Linked DNA regions of Homo sapiens: all the other regions are linked to region 1. Evidence: promoter capture Hi-C in 16 types of primary human blood cells and fetal thymus (Javierre and others, 2016). All regions are on one chromosome and are shown on one strand. Each heading gives the region's core, a stretch centred on a gene start or on the middle of the fragment in contact. The rest is flanking DNA. Distances are from core to core; before and after follow the strand shown.

Region 1 (2,536 bases), core at 27-2,526:
TCGCTGGGAGCCCGGAGCTTTAGCTTTCCCCGGCAGCCCCGGCCCCCGCGCCCGCCGCGCCCAGCGGCCGGCGCCTCGCCCCGGGCCCCGGGGAGGAGGCGCGCCGGGGCAGCCGGCCAGGACACTGCGCTGCTGGCTCCTAGAGCTGCGGGCGCGCCTGGCCGGCCCCACTTCCCGGGTTGCTGGGGCGGGCGCCGCTGCCCCGACCCCGGACGCGCGGAACCCTGGAGACCCGGCCGCTCCCCGCCAGGGCCGCGGTGCTGCTCCAGGCTCCGGGCGGGCGCCCCTTTCCGGCTACCGGTGCACCCCGTTGCCCGCTTGCGGGAAGCGAAGAGGGGTCCCTTGATTTGCAACATAGAGGAAAGCGCCGCTTCCGCCCAGCCTGGCACCCACGCGCCCACACGCACCCGGCGCCGGCCGGGTCGCTCACCTGAGTCCTAAAAGCTGTTGAATCCACATGGTCACGTTTCGGGGAGCGGGGCCTCAGACCTGGCTCGCCCAGGCCATCTGCGCGGCGCCCGCGCCCGCTCGCTTCCGTCCCGCGGCGCCGGTCTCCGGCTCTCGGTCCGCCGCCTCCCGCCGCCCGCCGGCCGCGGGGCGCACAGCGAGTCAGAGCGCGGCCGCGCGGGGCTCCATGCCGGCCGGCGCGCCGCCGCCGTTGGGGCGCATGGCTCAGGCTGGGCGGCCCGCGGGGGCGCACATCCTCCGGCCGGGGCGCGGGGCTCGCGGCCCCCTCCGCCGGCGGCACAGCGAAGGCGGCAGCGAGGCGGGGCGTGTTCCGGCGCTGTCGCGGCGCAGCAAAGGGCTGGGGAGCCGCGGCTTCGCCCTCCGGGGCGGCGAGGAGGGAGGCCGGCGGCGCTGCCGCTCACGGTGCGTGTCTCCCGGCGCGCGGCTCTTGCCTCCAGCCGGAGCTCCGCGCCGATGGGGCGGCGCTGCTTAGGGTTTGGGGTGACGCGACGCGGACGGACGCGAGTCCCCTCCGCGCTGCCGGGTCGGGGGGCTCTGCCAGAGGCTCCGCCGCCGATCGGCGCCACTCAAGTTGCCCGGGGGCTCCGTCTGAGCGCTCGCTCTGCAGACGGCCGCGGCCCGGAGACTGGCAGGAGGCGGGCACGAGAGGCGCGCGGGGCGAGGGCGCCGTGGAGCGCGGGGCGTGGGGACGCGCGGCGGCGGCGCCGCGCGGAGGAGGCGCGCGGGGATCCCGGGGCCCCGCCGCCCGCGCCCACCGCGCCCGCCGCAGAGCCGCCCGCGCTGCTCAGCCGCCTCCCTCCTCGCGTCTGCCTCTCCGCGCGCTCGCCCCCGCCTCCCGGAGCCGGTCCCAACTCCGCCCGCCCGGCCCGGCTCACGTCACCCGCCTTCCCCGCCCCTCGAACGGGAGCTCGAGCCCCTGGCCTGGCCCCGGCTCCTGCTCGCCGCCCCACCTTGCGGGGGCCGGGGTCGCCGCGGGTGGTGGGGGGCGCTGTGCCCAGCAGGGGCGACAGCGCAGGCGGGGCCTCCTGCAGCCCCCTTCCCCATCCCCGGTCGCGTCCCGGTCCCCACCTTGCGAAAGGCTCGAGAGAGGCCGCAGGCTAGGATTGGACCGCCGGGCGCCGCCGGATGGTGTTGCCAGGGTAACCGGATGGCACGCGAAGCCGTTCGAGGTTCCGACCCGGTTACGGGGGCGCCCAGTGGACCCGGAGAGCTACTTTGGGGAGGGGGCGGCCCCGAAGAAGGACTGGGTGGGGGCGCATGGAGCGGGGGCTGCGCGAAAAGTTTCCTGGGGCGGAGCTGAGCCACGCGGGCCGCGCAGGAGCGTCTGTCCGAGGGTCGCCTACGAGGGACTCCTCTGCTCGGCTGCGCGGGCTTCTGCGTTGATGAAGTCACCGCGTTCCGGGTCGGAGCTTCGGCGCTTCTGCCCCGAACCCAGCGAAGCCCGGTCCTATGCCCCCAATTACCCAACGGTCCCTCATCGCCCAGCGCAGCTGCTGCCTGGCCAGGCCCTTGCTCCGGAGGAGTCACTGGAAAGTTCCAGGGAATCTGGGCCTCCCGGACTCTCCACCGGCGTTTCACTGCTCCCTTCCCATGCCAGGACTCCTCTGTGCCTACCTGGTTAGTCTGTATTTGCAAAAAACAAACAAAAACAACAACAAAAAACAAATGGGGGGCACTTAAAGGAGGACAGACGCTGGGCGGGGACCTTTCACTGAGAGAAGTGACATGGGGCGGAATCCTCTGCAGACCCGCTGACGCCTTGAGAAACCACGGCAAAACCCTGCTTTTAATCCTCCACAGGCTGAGGGCAGTGCAGAATCCGGGCCTTGGAAAGGACACTGGTGCCACCCTTCACTGGGGAAAGGTGCAAGGGGCGGGGGATATACCATGCCGAGCCTTCGCTCTGTGCTCTGTGCAGGTGCTTGACCCAGGCCAGCTCTGGAATCGCCCCAGGCCATGTGAGAGCCGTGGGGGGTGAGAGGGGCGGGAAGCACTTCACAGGTGAGGCCTCCCTGGGAGGGGCAGCCAGTGAGGGGGTGGAAGGGCAGAGCCAGGAGGACCATGGCTT
Region 2 (2,536 bases), core at 12-2,511, 830 kb before region 1:
AAGTCATGGTGCAGAGGCCTGGAGGCAGACAGCCCCAGGCTGCGGAGAGTGGGCTTCTTGCCATCACCTGGTCTAAGGCCTCTGCAGGTAACCCCTGTTTAGGTGCCCAGAGAGAAGAAAGAAGCCCCGTTCCTCTGCCTGCTCCTCTCAACTTTGAGGCTTGTAATGTCAACAGCTGCCAATTTAAGCCTGGGTCTGAGCCCAGCACTGACAATGTGCTGGCTGGACAGGTGGGGGCTGACTAGACAGGTGAGGGCTGGCTGGACAGGTGAGGGCTGACTGCACAGGTGAGAACTGGGTGGACAGGTGAGGACTGACTGCACAGGTGAGGGTTGGCTGGACAGCTGAGGGCTGCTTGGACAGGTGAAGGCTGGCTGCACAGGTGAGGTCTGGCTGGACAGGTGAAGGCTGACTGTACAGATGAGCTCTGAATGCAGAGATAAGGACTAGCTGCACAGGTGAAGGCTGACTGGACAGATGAGGGCTGGCTGGACAGGTGAGGGCTGGCTACACAGGTGAGGTCTGGCTGCACAGGTGTGGGTTGGCTGGACAGGTGATGTCTGGCTGGACAGGTGAAGACTAGCTGCACAGGTGAGGACTAGCTGCACAGGTGAGGTCTGGCTGGACAGGTGAGAGCTGACTGTACAGATGAGGTCTGACTGCACAGATAAGGACTAGCTGCACAGGTGAGGGCTGACAACAGGTGAGGACTAGCTGCGCAGGTGAGGGCTGGCTGGACAGGTGAGGGCTGGCTGGACAGGTGAGGACTAGCTGCACAGGGGAGGACTAGCTGCACAGGTGAGTTCTGGCTGGACAGGTGAGGGCTGACTGTACAGATGAGGTCTGACTGCACAGATAAGGACTAGCTGCACAGGTGAGGGCTGACTGGACAGGTGAGGACTAGCTGCGCAGGTAAGGGCTGGCTGGACAGGTGAGGGCTGACTGGACAGGTGAGGGCTGACTGGACAGGTAAGGGCTGGCTGGACAGGTGAGGGCTGACTGTACAGATGGGGTCTGACTGCAGAGATAAGGACTAGCTGCACAGGTGAGGGCTGGCTGCAAGGTGTGTGTGAAAGAAGTACAGCGGCAGTCCCGTCATGGAAGGAACTTGCAAACAGATTTGAACCTGGAACTTGTATATCACACTTGTCCCAGAGTTGCCCTTTCCTTTAATCTCCAAAATCAAACCATTCGTGCCCCCTTACTGGCTATGCTGCACACCCATGGTTCTTGCTGCTGATTCTCCTCTCTTCTGGAAATGCTCAGCACGTGTCCTCTGCAGGAGCGCTGTGTGGTGATGGGTTATGTCAGCCAAAGGAAACGAATCCAGGAGCCAAAGTGTCCACAGGCAGATGTCAGTTTTGTGAGGGCAGACCTGGGGACCACTGCCGTAAGGGCCTCAGATCAAAGACAGAAGACCACACCCAGCAGAGCCGTGGACAAAGGCACCAACCTAGAGAAGAAAAGTGGTCAGGGCTCTGCAGCTATGTCCTGCGGCAACTCAGCCCCTCAGGGCTGCTGCTGGGGACGCAGTTCTAAGCAGCAAATCTGAGCACGCTCTGCAGCCAACATCCCTCCCATGTCCTGTGACTACTCCTAGGGCAGAACTCCTCACCAGGCAGCCGACTCATCCTTCTATCCATTTTTTAATTAATTCATTCATTTATCTCTCTGCCCACCGTTCCTCACCCGGCGTGTTCATTTCTGCAGCCTTAAGAGCTCCACTTACTGCACAATCCACAATCCACCCTCCGTCAACATTGGCAAGTGACTTGCCCAATGACGGTGTCATCACACAGCTGGTCAGAGGCTGCATCTGGCTTTGAACCCGGGTCTGCTGGCCCCAGGGTCCCTGTAGCCGTCATGATATTTGTCCTCCATTCCTCCCGGAGAGCATCTCCTCCCCTTGGCAAATGCTTGCTAGTGCTTAAGAAAAAGCTCAAAGTGTCCCTTCCTCCATGGAGCCCTCAAGGCCTGCTCCAGGCAGTTTTCACACCTCCCTTCTCAGGCTCCCAGGATGCTCTGTGGTTGCTCCAGCCACACTGATGAGATCCTGTGATTCCGTGTTTGTCCCCTGAGGGCAGGGACTGGATCTCGTTGATCTAGATGTGCTTAGCACCCATGCAGGTCCTGGTATATTGTAGGTACTCAATAAATGCTCCAAGAGTGAATACATGAATGAAAGAATGTGCAGGGATGTCTCTGTGTGCCCTAGAAGGCCCTCCTCTTTGCAATGTGTGTGGCTGACCTTTCCACCCAGTGGGGTGCGGGCTGCCAATGTCACAAGTGGCAGACCTTTTTTTCCCTTCTCCTGGGTAACTGCTGTGAAGGAAGAGTCAGGTGGCCAGGGGCTTCCAGCCACTCCCGGGGTGGCTGTATCGAATCCAACAGAGGACTGCTGGGAGGGGAAAAGGGAATGTGAAGATGCGGGGATCCTTCCTCCTCTCTGAGGGGCTGGGCCTGAGTTCCCACTCACCAAGACTGAACAGAGCATGTTAATCCTCGGTGGCTATTTTGAGCCCTTTGTGATTAATTT
Region 3 (2,536 bases), core at 15-2,514, 740 kb after region 1:
GGGAGGGATGGAGGGAAAGACAAAGAAAAGGAAGGAAGGGAGGGAGGGAGGAGGGAGGGAAGGGAGGGAAGGAGGGAAGGAGGGAAGGGGAGGGAGGGAGGGAGGAAGGAAGGGAGGAAGGAAGGGGAGAAAAAGAGGGGAAGGGGGAGGGAGGGAGGGAAAGACAAAGAAAAGAAGGAAGGGAGGGAGGGATGGAGGGAGAGAGGGAAGAAGGAAGGGAAGGAAGGAAGGGAGGGAGGGAGGGGGAAGGAGGGAGGGAGGGCGGGCTGGTGGGCAAGCGAGCTAGTTGCTATTTCCAATGCCCTTGGAACTTCAGTGCCCATTGTCAGCCTGAAACCTGCAGAACAGAGCAGGGGAAAGTGCCAGCCAGTGAATACCTGAGGACGGGGGCATGGGTGGCCATGACATGTAGATATGCAGAGTGCACCCAGCCCCATGGCATTCATAGGGTGAGGGGCCCAGAGACCAAGACAGCCCAGGGCTGCAGGCTGGGAGAAGATACCTAGAGCAAGTCCTGGAAATGGAGCTGGTCCTGCGTGGTTAAAGTGCCTCAGGGACTGGACAACTGGGCATTTTTATCACTCCATGGAACTGGGGGCAGCCCCTTGTCGTGCATGGGAGGGGGCTTGCACTGGGTCTTTCCCCATAGGCCTCCTGATCCCTGGGATGTGAGTAGCCACTGTTGCCAATGCTCACTAACCCTAGGCTCCCTGATGTCCCCGACACCTTGCCAACCTGGGCCTTCATCACCAGGCAAAGTGGCCAGAGAGAGAATGTGGATGTCTCAGGAGACGGCCTGTGTGCCCACTCATGAAGAATCGTTTCCTGGAGCAGGGCAGAGCATCCCCTTCCACCGCCACTGTCCTTGAGAAAGGGAGGGTTCCAGACGCAGATGACTTTCAGCCCCTATCTGGAAAAGGGAAAAGACTGTCCCCACAACAGCAGCTGGCACTGTGGGCTGGGGTGAAATGGCAGCATTTGCTGGCCTCCACTGGTGGCCTTCCGGGCACACAAAGGTTTCCTCTGAACCAAGCAGGGGACCCACATGAGCAGCAAAGCCACAAATAGCACTGGGGAGGGCGAGCCCTTTGTAGCGGGTGAATTGCCAATAAAGGTCTGGAGGTGGGAAGGAAGCAACCAGGGTGTCCTGCTGGGAGAATGAGATGCCCTCAGGCACCCTGTCCTCCAGCGCCGCTCGGAACAGCCCTCTGCCTGGCAAGTCCGGGGGTGGTGATCCTGGAAATAAATCCCCTACGCTATTAACCCGGGAGGGCTCTTGGTCTTCTCTGTCTGGTCACGACCTGCCATCACTCCAGCATTCAGGGCCGTTTGCAGCCAGTGTTTTGGATGAGAATTTGACCTGGAATTAGCTCCAGGGTTTCCTGGGAACTCTACTGCGTGAACACAGCGAAGCGCCTCTGCAGGTTGTTTTTCGTCCCCCATGAGCAGAAACACATGAGCTTATTCCAAAAATAAGAAGGTTACGTGCTGACTCCCCACCCCCAGGCAAAGACTTCTACGTTATCCAGGTGTTTTCTGTGGCTCCCTTACAAGGCAGCTCTTCACAAAGAAAGCCTGCCTCAGAGATCTGCCCGAGCCTGGCTCTGTGGGATGTGAGGCTCCATCATATTTGCAAAGCGGCCCTGTATTAGTCCATTTTCACACTGCTGATAAAGACATACCCGAAACTGGGCAATTTACTAAAGAAAGAGATTGAATGGACTTACAGTTCCACGTGGCTGGGGAGGCCTCACAATCATGGCGGAAGGCAAGGAGGAGCAAGTCACATCTTACATGGATGGCAGCAGGCAAAGAGAGAGAGCTTATGTGGGGAAACTCCCCCTTATAAAACCATCAGATCTCATGAGACTTATTCACTATCATGAGAACAGCATGGGAAAGACCTGCCCCCATGATTCAATCACCTCCCACCAGGTCCCTCCCACAACACATGGGAATTCAAGGTAAGATTCGGGTGGGGACACAGCCAAACTATATCGGGTCCCCTTTGGAATGCCAGTGTCCCCATTCACCTTTGCATCCTCCAACTTGGCCTGGCTAGCTCCAAAGAGTGGATGACCATAAGCCAGAGGAAAGGAGGGAAAGGAGAATTCAACCTGTTGAGCCCCATCTATGAGTACATGCCCATCCTGGAGCAACACATGACACATGCCTTGTCACAGAAGGAGGCACAGTAGGCTTCGATGTCTGGGTACCCAGCACACACTTTCCCTACCCTGGGAACCACCCATGCCCCTCTGGCATAGGGGTAACCTCAGGATGGAGCCAACTCCACCCAGCTCCAGTGCAGGCCTGACCCATCAGCTCCGGCAGTCCCCTGGAACCAATGGCAGGGCACAGGACCTCGTCAGAGACCAGGGACCACAGACACACTCCCAGGTGGCTGGAATCTGGGAGGATGCGGGCCCTGGGCTTCGGCCATGTCTTGCCCCGATCTGGAACTTGGGACTGAAGCCCACGAGGAGGTGACAAGAACCAGAGAGGGAGGCTAGACCCCAGGATTTGCAGTTATGAG

What was found. The method cuts DNA at HindIII sites, captures the fragments that hold promoters and counts their contacts. A CHiCAGO score of 5 or more calls a contact.
Region 2: a fragment that was not itself captured here is called in contact with the fragment with the promoter of AJAP1 in region 1 in 1 of 17 cell types (naive CD8 T cells); the score reaches 5.6 in naive CD8 T cells.
Region 3: a fragment that was not itself captured here is called in contact with the fragment with the promoter of AJAP1 in region 1 in 1 of 17 cell types (total B cells); the score reaches 6.6 in total B cells.

The regions. Positions count from the first base shown.
Region 1 is chr1:4,653,349-4,655,884 of GRCh38, reverse strand. AJAP1 (adherens junctions associated protein 1) reads right to left here and starts at 1,276. Exons shown (of 6, transcript NM_018836.4): 1 at 431-1,276. The coding sequence starts at 459. The HindIII fragment of the contact is 10,824 bases long and covers 1-2,536 here.
Region 2 is chr1:5,483,938-5,486,473 of GRCh38, reverse strand. No RefSeq gene overlaps it. Among named protein-coding and RNA genes, the nearest start is that of MIR4689, 380 kb to the left of the region's middle. The HindIII fragment of the contact is 6,615 bases long and covers 1-2,536 here.
Region 3 is chr1:3,917,807-3,920,342 of GRCh38, reverse strand. No RefSeq gene overlaps it. Among named protein-coding and RNA genes, the nearest start is that of LINC01134, 19 kb to the right of the region's middle. The HindIII fragment of the contact is 5,645 bases long and covers 1-2,536 here.